Linked DNA regions of Homo sapiens: regions 1 and 2 are each linked to region 3. Evidence: promoter capture Hi-C in human tissues and cell types (Jung and others, 2019). All regions are on one chromosome and are shown on one strand. Each heading gives the region's core, a stretch centred on a gene start or on the middle of the fragment in contact. The rest is flanking DNA. Distances are from core to core; before and after follow the strand shown.

Evidence for each region. The method cuts DNA at HindIII sites, captures the fragments that hold promoters and counts their contacts. A contact is called where the count stands out against the background at its distance.
Region 1: a fragment that was not itself captured here is called in contact with the fragment with the promoter of CDRT15L2 in region 3 in 2 of the 25 tissues and cell types used here (spleen and stomach).
Region 2: a contact is called between a fragment that was not itself captured here and the fragment with the promoter of CDRT15L2 in region 3, in 3 of the 25 tissues and cell types used here (H1 embryonic stem cells, dorsolateral prefrontal cortex and spleen).

Annotation. Positions count from the first base shown.
Region 1 is chr17:20,544,492-20,547,985 of GRCh38, reverse strand. It overlaps the pseudogene TBC1D3P3. Among named protein-coding and RNA genes, the nearest start is that of CDRT15L2, 33 kb to the left of the region's middle. The HindIII fragment of the contact is 9,690 bases long and covers 1-3,494 here.
Region 2 is chr17:20,619,474-20,623,413 of GRCh38, reverse strand. All of the region lies in intron 2 of LINC02088 (long intergenic non-protein coding RNA 2088), which reads left to right. Among named protein-coding and RNA genes, the nearest start is that of LINC02088, 12 kb to the left of the region's middle. The HindIII fragment of the contact is 3,404 bases long and covers 540-3,940 here.
Region 3 is chr17:20,578,264-20,582,260 of GRCh38, reverse strand. It overlaps CDRT15L2 (CMT1A duplicated region transcript 15 like 2), which reads right to left and starts at 2,537. Exons shown (of 2, transcript NM_001190790.2): 1 at 2,253-2,537; 2 at 1,350-2,112. The coding sequence starts at 2,517. The coding sequence ends at 1,532. LOC105371580 (a long non-coding RNA gene) reads left to right here and starts at 2,570. Exons shown (of 4, transcript XR_934315.4): 1 at 2,570-3,223; 2 at 3,409-3,634. RefSeq lists an enhancer at 2,376-3,374. The HindIII fragment of the contact is 15,974 bases long and covers 719-3,997 here.

The DNA of each region.
Region 1 (3,494 bases), core at 292-2,791, 33 kb after region 3:
CTTCTTTCCTTCCTTCCCAAAGCGCTGACTGTGGGCTGACTGCCATTTGGGGCAGGGAGTCTTCCATCTGTTCTGAGGCTGCTTCCTCCTCTTGGCCCTGCCCTACAGATCATGAAGGAGAAGGGCAAGAGGTCTTCTGAACACATCCACCAGATCAAACTGGACGTGAGCAGGACTCTCCAGAACCATGTCTTCTTCAGGGATCGATATGGAGTGAAGTAAGCCTACGAGAGCCACAGGGTCCCAGAGGAGATGGGGTGAATGAGAGGGATGGGGACTTTCCCAGAGCAGAAGCCAGGATCACCCAGGAGGGATGACAGAGCTGCCAAGAGCTCTCCTAGCCCAGGGAGCAGCCGGCACCATGAACCAAGCACCTCCCTGGTTCCAAGCCCTGGGCCAGGCTGGAACATGTGGGGCCAGAACCCAGGAGGATCCTGAGGAGACAGAAGACAGCAAACAAAATCATGCATAATGGTGAAAGGTGCTCTCCCTGACCCACGGGGACCCATGGTAGGACCCACGGGAGGGTGGCAGGATGGAGAGCCCATGAGCCTCCCCAGGCAACACTGACAGCACCAAATGCTGGGAGAATTAGGGGTCCTGGAAACTCTCATCCAGGTCTGCTGGGAATATGACATGGCACAGCCACGTTGGCAGCCAGTTGGGCAGTGGCTCACAAAGCTCAATGGACTTGAACCACACGTCCCCAAGGTGTCACAGATATTGAACCCACTGATTTGAAAACTGACATCCACATGAAACCTGCATGCCACGTTCACTGCTTGATTCCTCATCAGTCACACACGAAGCCTTCGGGGATGGCCTTCAACACGGGAATGGGGAGAGACAGTCTGGTCCTCCTTTCAAACAGAAGACCCAGTGAGAAAAGGGAATGAGCCAGTGATGCCCGCAGGAATGTGGGTGGATCCTAGATGCATTTTGCTAAGGGAAAGAAGCCAGACCCAATAAGCTACCACAGTAGGATTCCCATTCCTAGGCCATTCTGGAAAAGACCAAACCATAGGGACTGAGAAGCAGTCTGGGTGGCCAGGGGCTGACGGATCGGGGAGAGGCTGGGTGCATAGGGGAAACCCTGGAGATTTGAAAGATCAGGAGTCACTCCAGGAGGGGCTGGAGTGGTGGCCGGGAGACTCTGCACACTGGTTTGGAACCGTGGAGGAACTGTACACCCAAAGACTGAACTGGCGTGTGTGCAAACTGAAAAAAAAAAAAAATCATTCAGAGTGAAAAGGATCGGTCAACTCCCTGTACAACTGGGCTATTTGCATGTCACAGATGTGGATTTTACTGAAACATTTCTTCAATAATCTCAGGCCCTGAAAGTTCACTGCTTATCTGGTGAATCATCTGAACCTGAAATGGGATTTGTTTTTAGGATTTGTAGACAAAGTGAAACTAACAGCATCTGCACAAACCAAACCCTAGCCCCCTTTCTCTGTTTCCTAGGCAGCGGGAACTATTCTACATCCTTGTGGCATATTCAGAGTATAACCCGGTGAGTATTCCCGGCAGTGAGGTTCCTGGGCCATATTTCCATATTCACAGGAGTGGGTGTCTGATGGGGGTGTCGTTGCTTCTTTTAAAGTTAGTATTTGTGACCCACCAGGATATAGGAGGTAGGATTCCAGGTCACTGCTGGCATAAACCTCCAAGCAAGGGGGTGGTCTCAAGGGGTCAAGCTGAGACACAAAGGACTTGGGGCCTGGACTCCTGGTGTCACCTGGGCCTGTCACCTGGGCACTTCTCAGAACAAGAAATGACACCCTCCTCCTGGGGCTGCCCCAAAGCCTGGGAGCTTGGCAGTGTCACATGCAGGACGGTGCTCTCAGGAGACAATTTGGACAAGGTGCTGAAGTGCCTGATGGACTTGGCTCTTGTCATGAAATGAATTTGCATCCTGAGGAAGCCTCTTCAGAGGAAGCCTCCCCAGTCACCTCTGCCCTCTCCAATGACATGAGTCCTCCCAGGTGACCTCGGCCCTCCCAGGTGATGTCCTTCCATGGCGATTCTGGCTCTTGCAGGAGGTGGGCTACTGCAGGGACCTGAGCCACATTGCCACCTTGTTTCTCCTTTATCTGCCTGAGGAAGATGCATTCTGGGCACTGGTGCAGCTGCTGGCCAGTGAGAGGCACTCCCTGCCGGGTAGGTGAACAGCTGCCCGTGGGGCCTCATGCAGCCAGATCTGGGGACAGCCACCGTGGCCAGGTGATCTCGGCTTTCAGCCAAGGCACCATCCTTGTGTCGCCAGCTTGTTGGGAGCCTTTAGGACGTCTCTGCTGAGGGTCCCACAGGAGTCCGCAGCTGACCCCCACAGCCCAAGTCAAATGCCTTTCATCCCCATCAGCAGAGGGCATCTCATCCTCCCCGTGGCCACCCTCTGTGTCCTGGAGCCACGCCCTCCGGCTCTGACTCTGTGCAGCTGACTCTCCCCTCCCTGAGAGTCCTCCTGCCCTCCAGCTGCCCAGGCTCCTGCTGCCCTTGGTGCCCACGAATGGGCTAACCAAGCCCAGGTGGCAGCATCTCCCCATCCCGTGTCCCCTGGCCCAACCCCACTTCCACAAGATGACCAGGAAGCCCAGCACCCACCGTGTTCTGGCTGCTCTGTTGTGACCTCAAAGTCAGGCTTGCCCTTTTTGCACCCTAGCCCAGGAGGCCTCCAGGGGAACCTCCAGCCAGGCTCCAGGGGATGTTCTTGTCCCACCTCCCCAGGGCAAAGGCCGCATGGTGGGGTCACCAGATGGGAGGGTGGGAGGCCTTCGGGTTTGGGGGCCTCTGCAGCTGCCCAGCTCTTGCAGCTGATGGCTCCACATCTTGGGGGAAGGCTCTGATTTCATGATGGGCTGGGGGCTTCTCAGGATTCCACAGCCCAAATGGCGGGACAGTCCAGGGGCTCCAAGACCAACAGGAGCATGTGGTACCCAAGTCACAACCCAAGACCATGTGGCATCAGGTGAGTTTATTGTCCCCTTGGCTCTTCTCAGAGGCCTTGCCTCCCGTGGGGCTGTAGGAGCAGGGGGACTGGAGACCCTCGTGGGACTGGTGACTGGCGGAGTCCCAGCCAGGGCCTGACCTGAGACGTCGGGTTCTCCATGGGCTGGGAGTTTGTTTCCTTTCCTGCCCTGGAGGAGACAGAGGCACAGGGATGGGGGCCCCGCTCCCGCAGAGCAAGTCAAAGGTCAGTGTGTCCACTGAGAGTGTGGGAAGGGGACAGTGTTGTGGGGAGCTCTGGACACCGCCCAGTGTTCTGCACTAGGGGAAGGGTCTTCAGAGGCCCTGGAAGATGGAGGTTTTTAGGGCAGCCCAGGGGGCCCTGAGCACCTCTGTTCCTCCCATCAGGACAAGGAAGGTCTATGCGGACAGTGTTCCTCATTAGGCTGCCTTCTCCGGATGTTGATTCAAGGGGTAAGGAGGCATAGGGAGACCCTGGCTCAGGGACCCTCCTTGCCCTGCAGTGCCCTGCTTCCCCAGTCCGG
Region 2 (3,940 bases), core at 992-3,491, 41 kb before region 3:
TCTCCATGTTCAGGCTGGTCTCGAACTCCTGACCTCAGGTGATCCACCCACCTCGGCCTCCCAAAGTGCTGGGATTACAGATGTGAGAGTTTGCATTTTTAATAAGCATCCTTGATTCTGATATAACTGGCACAGATCTACACTTGGATACACATTGCCTTAGTCCTAGCATCAAAACTGGCACACTTAAAGTGAGGTTTAACAGATTATTTCACTTCTTATATAAACAACTTCTCCAGTGACAACTGTTACTACTTGCCTTGAAATGATATATCAATAACGATATCATTAAGTATAAGAAATAATAAAAATTTTGTAGAGTAGTAAGATATTTGTGATCTACTTCAGGAAATTGTTAGAAGGATTTCTTAGCTCTCTTGTTGCATAAAAACATCCATACTATAGCAGTTATAAGGGAGTAAACTGAGCAATTTCCAATTTAGTTTTTTTTTTCTTTTTTTTTTTTTTTTGAGACAAGGTCTTACTCTGGCACCCAGTCTGGAGTGCAGTGGTGCGATTATGGCTCATTGCAGCCTTGACCTTCTGCACTCAAGTGATCCACCCGAGTAGCTGGGACTACAGGAGTGTGCCACCATGCCCAGCTAATTTTTTGTATTTTTTGTAGAGATGGGGTTTCATCATGTTGCCCGGGCTGGTCTTGAACTTCTGGATGCAAGTGATCCGCTCGCCTTGGCCTCCCAAAGTGCTGGGATTCCAGGCATAAGCCACCCATGCCCAGCCTCTTGTTTTCTCAGAAGAAGCCTGAAATATTATCAGTAAGATAGAGTGAAATTTAAGAAGTGAAAAATGAGTGGACAAAAATACAGGGTTAATAAGAAATGCTGAACACATAAGAATATGCAAGTTGGGAGAGCAAATTGAAAACAATAGTTCCAGAATGGACCCTAATGGTTTCAGCCCACTCAAGTGTTTTGTAATGGTCTGTATAGATCCTTAATTATAAAGAGAGTACAGAGTACAGGATAAACACTGAATGGTATTATAGTTGTGAAAATAATTGACATTACTTAAACCTCACATTATTACTTTATTTCAGGCCAGCAAACTGAAAAAATATGGGATTTGATATACTTTTTAATTCAGTTTTTAAATTTATCTGTGAAATACATGATGGTTTCATTTTGTATTGCTATTATAAAACTCCTCTCTCTATATATATATGTGTGTGTGTGTGTGTGTGTGTGTGTGTGTATATATATATATATATATTTTTTTTTTTTTTTTTTAGACAGAGTTTCACTCTTGTTGCCCAGGGTGGAGTGCAATGGCATGATCTCGGCTCACTGCAACTTCCGCCTCCCAGGTTCAAGTGATTCTCCTGCCTCAGCCTCCTGAGTAACTGGGATTACAGGCATGTGCCACCACGCATAACTAATTTTGTATTTTTTAGCAGAGACGGGGTTTCTCCATGTTGGTCAGGCTGGTCTTGAACTCCTGACCTCAGGTGATGCACTCACCTCGGCCTCCCAAAGTGTTGGGATTACAGGCATGAGCCACCATGCCTGGCCAAAAACTCTTCTATATATTTTTAAAATTTTATAATTAGACATTATTTTCTGAAAATCTTGGAAACTAACCACTTCTAGGAATGAAAGCCTGGATCTACTGACAGCCAGCCCTGGACACAAAGATTCATCCACCCAGGTGCAGAGGCTCTCAGAGTGCATTGGATGCTGTCTGTCCATCCTTCCCCACCCCTGGAGGTTCATCTTTGGCTGGGACAGGGTTGGAGGGCAGCAAGAATGGCTGAGACTGGCCTCAGAATGTGGCTTCGTGGTGTCTGTCCTATGGGTGGCCCTGGGCTCGGGGGATGGTTTCTGCCATCAGGATCAAGACTCTCTCTCATGCTGCAGGGTCCAGAGGGTGGGCCTCGTCACTACCCTTTGCACCCCTCCTCCTAACACGAACAGTAACAGAACATTCCCAGAAACCCAGAACCTCCCTCATGCATCATTCTAGTCACTGTCTCCCTCTGCACTAAGGATAATCATTGCCCTGTCTAATACCATGTATCAGCTTTGCCTGTTTTTGAATTTTCTATAAATTTCATCCATGTACAACATCCTCTTTTGGGTCTGGCCTCCGTATTCCAATACAATGTTTGTGAGATCCGGTCACATTATTGGGAGTTAGAGTTTATTTGTGCTCGTTGCGTAGTAGTAGTTCGTTATAGGAACGCCACAATACTGTGTTTATTCCACTTTAGGTGAACATTTGGGTTGTTTTGAGTTTTTGGCTCATAATATTGGTGTGAAAATACTTGTACACGTCTCTTGGTGAACATATGTGCACATTTCTCCTGGGCCTGGGGGTGGACAAAGCTTTGTTTTTAACCATTAACTTGATATCAGTGTTAGTAAATTTCTAATGATTTAATCCAAATAACTTTCAAAGACCTTTCCAAGCCTAAAGACAACAAAGCCTGTGCTTTAATAATTATATATCCTGGAAATATTTCTGGAACATTTTCTAGAAATGGAGGCAATCATGACTTTGATTTCAGATGTCAGAATGCCCTTGGGCCTAAAGATGGGTTCATGTTGCAGGGCCTCCTCTCCAGGTGGTTTCTTTTTCACTCTGCCCAAGGTGCTTCTGTTTTCTCCCTGGGAAATGGAAGGAGTTCAGAATGATTTCTGTTGTCATAGTTAGGAGACTGTGCATACCTGGAAATAATGGTCAGGAGAAACCCTTTGTGTTGATAAGGGGGCAATTTTTTATACGTCTTTCACTGAAATAAAGAAAGGGCCAAATTAATTCCATATCCAAGTTAAATTTATGATTTTTGGACAGGTGCGGTGGCTCACACCTGTAATCCCAGCACTTTGGGAGGCCGAGGCAGGTGAATCACCTGAGGTCAGGAGTTCGAGACCAGCCTGGCCAACCTGGTAAAACCCTGTCTCTACTAAAAATACAAAAATTAGCTGGGTGTGGTGGTGGGTGCCTGTAATCCCCACTACTCGGAAGGCTGAGGCAGAAGAATCACTTCAATCCAGAAGGCGGAGGTTGCAGTGAGCCGAGATCACGCCACTGCACTCCAGCCTGGGCAACAAGAGCAAAACTCCGCCTCAAAAAAAAAAAAAAAAAGTAAAATAAATTTATGATTTTCAAAGAGGAAGCCTTGATAATTAACCAAATCTAACCATTAATTTAAGCTATTTGGTACATTGTGTCACTTTAGATGGAGGAAGCTAAACAAGAATTACATAGTTTCCTTTTCACATGGAAAAGCTATGTGTAAATCTGTAGAAAATGCCCCTGTGAGGACTTAACACATTTTCTTTGATTGGATTGTGCATCTTGTTTAATCTTTACTGAATGTTCTGTTTAAAATCATCTTTTACCAAGCTTACTTTTGTTGATAGATCTTTGAAAATTAATTTGCATTGAGACCAATATTTATGGTCTCTTACATATCACAGACAATAAATGCACATCTTTAGGACAAAAGTAGTGCCTAGGCTGGGGCTTTAAAGTCCTACAGACCTGGCTGTGAAAATAAAAACCAGTTATAAACTGTAGATTTGAGTAATTTCCCTTCTGTAAACTCTAGTTTCTTCATCTATAAAACAGTCATTATTATTGTGGGGATTAAATGAGATTTAACCATTTCAAAGTTGTGCTCAATGCTTGGCATAAAGCAAGCACACAGCAATTTCTGTTCTTCCTACCATTATGTTATTGTGATTATCACCTTCAACTGTTCCCTTCAACTGTGCTCTTGAAAAGTGGGCATCTTTTCGATCAAGCAGTTCTTCTATTTACCTAAAGGTAAAATCGTTTTGGCCATGTCAACAAAATGTCATAATATAAATATAAACATTATATACAGAAGCTAATGTTCTGTAAATAATCTTGCCTCATTTTCTACAAATCTGTTGGTCTCTGAAAAAAGGAAATTAAAAACAATTCATAGAGAGAA
Region 3 (3,997 bases), core at 1,288-3,787:
TGACTTGGAGGCTAGGGCTGGTCTGCACTTAGCCTCTCCCTTCTTAATTTCTAGCCCTAATGAGCAGCCCTGTCTTAGCCCTGGCTGACCTCCACAGTGTATCATCATGTTCCTGCTACCTTCCTGACCCCTATGCTCAGCCTGGAATTGTTGTAGGAGATAGCAAGGGCATTCAGAAGAGTCAGTTGGTTACCAGTGCCTTTGTGTTTACTCTTTTACATGTTAGATCCTGAGTTGGGGGTGGGGTTTGATAAGGAAGAGGTGGTATAGCTAGAATGCGAACTAAGAACTTCTCCATCTGCTTTACTTTTTCTTTTGTTGACAAACTGTCACCTTTTCTACTCCAAACTGAGCAAGAAGTTGTATTTGCCGTATGTAGCTACTCAAGTCCTACTGCCCAGCCAAGGGTCCCTACAATGTCTCAGCCCAGTTGATTGGTTAAAAAGAGAGAGAGAGAGGGAGGTCACTCTCATTTTTGTATCGCAATTGTCCTTCTTTTTAGCAAGTGTGTGAACTCACAGTGCTTTCTATGAATAAACCATGGATCACATGAAAGAGCATTTTTCTTAAAGAAAACAAAAATTGTCTAAATTTTTGTTTAGACAATTTTGTTTAGACAATCCCCAGAGGGGACCAGCAAATACTTAATAGAAGATTATAGATTTCCTGTGAGTGCATATGGCTCGGGGTGACCTGATTCTATAAAGCAAATGTTATTGTCCTCCTCAAATTCATGCGTTGGATTCTATGTGATGGTATTTGGGGGTGGGGCCTTGGAAGGTGATTCGGTTCATGAAGGCAGGGACCTCATGAATGGAATTGGTGTCCCTATCAAAGGGACTGCAGAGAGCTCCCTCACCCCTTCTGTCATGTAAAGACACAGTAAAAAGATGGCTGTCTATGAACCAGGAAGCCAGCCCTCTGCAGACACGGAATCTGCTGACCATTTGACCTCGGATTTTACCATCTCCAGAACTGTGAGAAATCAATTTTCTATGCTACCTAGTCTATGGCATTCTGTTTTGACACCCAGATTAGCTAAAGTACCAGCATGTCAATTTGCACACATAATTCTTGGAAACTCTGATGCCAAATCCTTGATGGCAAAAGGTGATTGATCTGCCGGAGACATGAGCCTACATCATCCCTCTTTCCACAATAAACCAGAGAGTCAAAACAGGCAAGAGTGGGTCAAGGTCTTCTAAAAGCCATACCTGAAAGGTTTCCAATAACAGATGACTCGATGGTAATTCAGCCACACAAACAACCACAACAAAAGACACAACTATCCGAGATTTTCAGGATAGCCTCAAAAACACCATCTAACATTAGGGAGTTCAAAAAGGTGAGAAGTTTCAGAAATCAAACTTTATTTATATTTCATTTCATAAACTTGTAATTCTAACACTATTAATAAATGCTAGGGCAGGTGGTGGCATGGAGAGCCTGGAGCACAACAGCTGTCTTTAAAAGCTTTCCTTGCTGTACCCTTTGGAGCCACCTCCTGGTCCCCTCAACCCCTGCCCACCTGTTAAGAGCCCGTTCGGGGCAGCACATTAGGGGCAAACAGCCTGGATGCCCAGTTGCAGACACACTTCCATGCCTGGAGGAGAAGATTGCGTCTGAGAGCAGGAGGAGCTGCTGGAACTCTTCTTCCCAGCCTTGTTTTAATGCTCTTGAGCATCACCTTCACAGAGATATACCCCACCAGAATTAGCACAATAAACAGGCCCTGCAGCAGCAGGGCTGTGGTTCCGGCGAATGAGAGAAGCCTCTCTCCAGCGAGGTACAGGAGTCCAGTCTGAATGCCCTGGTCTCCGCCTCCATGTTTGCCACCATGCCCAGGACTAGGGGCAGCATGGGATCTGCTGGCTGGGGCTGTGCTTGTCACCCCCTCCCTCCCACTTCTCTCTCCAGCCACGTTTTCAGCTCCAGCATTAAGGCCAGTGGCTACAGTAGGTGCCATGATTTCAGGCAGCTCCTGGCTGGGCTGGTCCTTGGCTGGAGCTCCCTCCACCTCCAGCGCTCTCTCTGGAGGGGGCTCTTCCCATGCTGGCTTTGGCTCGACAGCCGGTGCCGCAAGTGCTGCTATGTCTGCGTACGGACCAGGAGCTGAAAAAGGAGAAAGGGTCACCAGCATCAGTCACTTTCCACTGGAATTTCCAAACACAGAGACAACCTCACTGAATTCAAAGGCATTCCAGCCCAAAAGCACCGCCCCCGCAAAGTCTTCCAGGCTGCAGCCACCTCACCATGTGTCTGTGCCTCCATGGGCTCCCGAATCTCCTCCTGGACAAGGACAATGTGCAGAGGCAGCCCCGATGGGATCTCTGGTGTGGCCTGGCCAGCTAGGGCCTGCCCCGGGCTGTCCTGTGGTACCTGGGTGCGCCTTCTTACAAAGGGCCACAGGCGTCTGGGGTGAGGGATGAGCCTTCTTCGGCATTGTCGGAAAAGGCTCTCACTCCCTCCATTCCTGAAGCAGCAACCTCTCGAAGTGGGGAAGCAACAGGAGAACATCTTGCTCTCTTGAGCGTCTCCCACAAAGTGAGCTGGTTACGGCGCTGACTCTAGGATATGGGTGCCTGGTTACCAGAGTTCTAAGTTCTCTTCGTGTGTGTCATCATCGAGGAAGTGAGGTCGCTTCTTTACGGTTCTGTCCCCTAGGCCCCTTCCTTCCATAAGCCTACTCAGGACTCCACTGGGTTACTGACTACTCACCCTCCCCTCAGGTCATCTCCTGACCCGTACACAGTTATGTCCACCCAGGCTCTGCTTGGACACCTGTGCCTGATGTTCACCAGGGGCCAGATGTCGTCCTCAGGCCTGATGTCCACCTGGGGCCTGATGTCTGCCTTGGCCTATGTCCCTCTTGGGGCCTTGTGTTCACCTGGGGACTGTATCCAGCTGGGGCCTGATGGCCTACTGGGTCTTGTTGTTCACCTAAGGCCTTGTGTCCACCTGGGGACTGGTGATCACCTGGGGCCTGGGTGTCCACCTGAGGCCGGAGGTGCACCTAAGGCCTGAGTTTTCACCTGGGCCTGATGATCACCTGGGGACTGGGTGTGTGCCTTGGGTCTTTTCCCTTTTCCTGAACAGGGCTTGCAGTTTCCAAACCAGACACAATCTCCCAGTTGGAGAAAGAAAAAGGATCCTAGATGATAGTGAGACAAATTTCAGGAAACTCCATCCAAATAAGTAAATGAGAATGAGGACAGGATTCATTGTAAGTAACATTCTCAGGTGGTGTTCCAAAGTTATCTTTTGCCTGGGTACAGTGGCTCACACCTGTAATCCCAGCTCTTTGGGAGCCCAAGGTGGGAGGATCACTAGAGGCTAACAGTTTGAGACCAGCTTGGGCAATGGAGTGAGACCCCCATTCTGAAAAAAAAAAATCAAAAAATTTAACAGGCATGGTGGCATGTGCCTGCAGTCCCAGCTACTCAGGAGGCTGAGGTGGGAGGATCGCTTGAACTCAGGAGTTGAAGGCTGCAGTGGGTGAGGATCACAACACTGAATTCCAGCTGAGGTGACAGAATGAGACCCTGTCTCTCTAAAAAACAAGCAAGCAAACAAACCAAAAACCACAAACAAACCAGACCCCTCTTAGCAGAATACTTCCATGAGGTAATAAAAGGTATGTACCAAATGCCTACAACAAACATATGTCATGATGAAATGTTAAATGCTTCCCATGGAATTAGGTTCAGGACAAGGTTCCATCCACCATCGCATTTGAATCCCACGTTGCACAGTGTAAAGGGGCCTGCCCAAGGTCATAACATTGCACACTGGGTAAGTCAAGAGAACCCAGTACAGCACTTTAGATCCTTCATTATAGTTTTGTTCTAAAACTGCTCCTGTTATCTTTTGGACATGAGTCTCTTAAGTATTATCATTTGAATTCACGTATACTAGTTCATTTTCACACTGCTCTAAAGAATACCTGAGACTGGGTGATATATAAGCAAAAGAGGTTTAATTGGCTCACAGTTCTGCA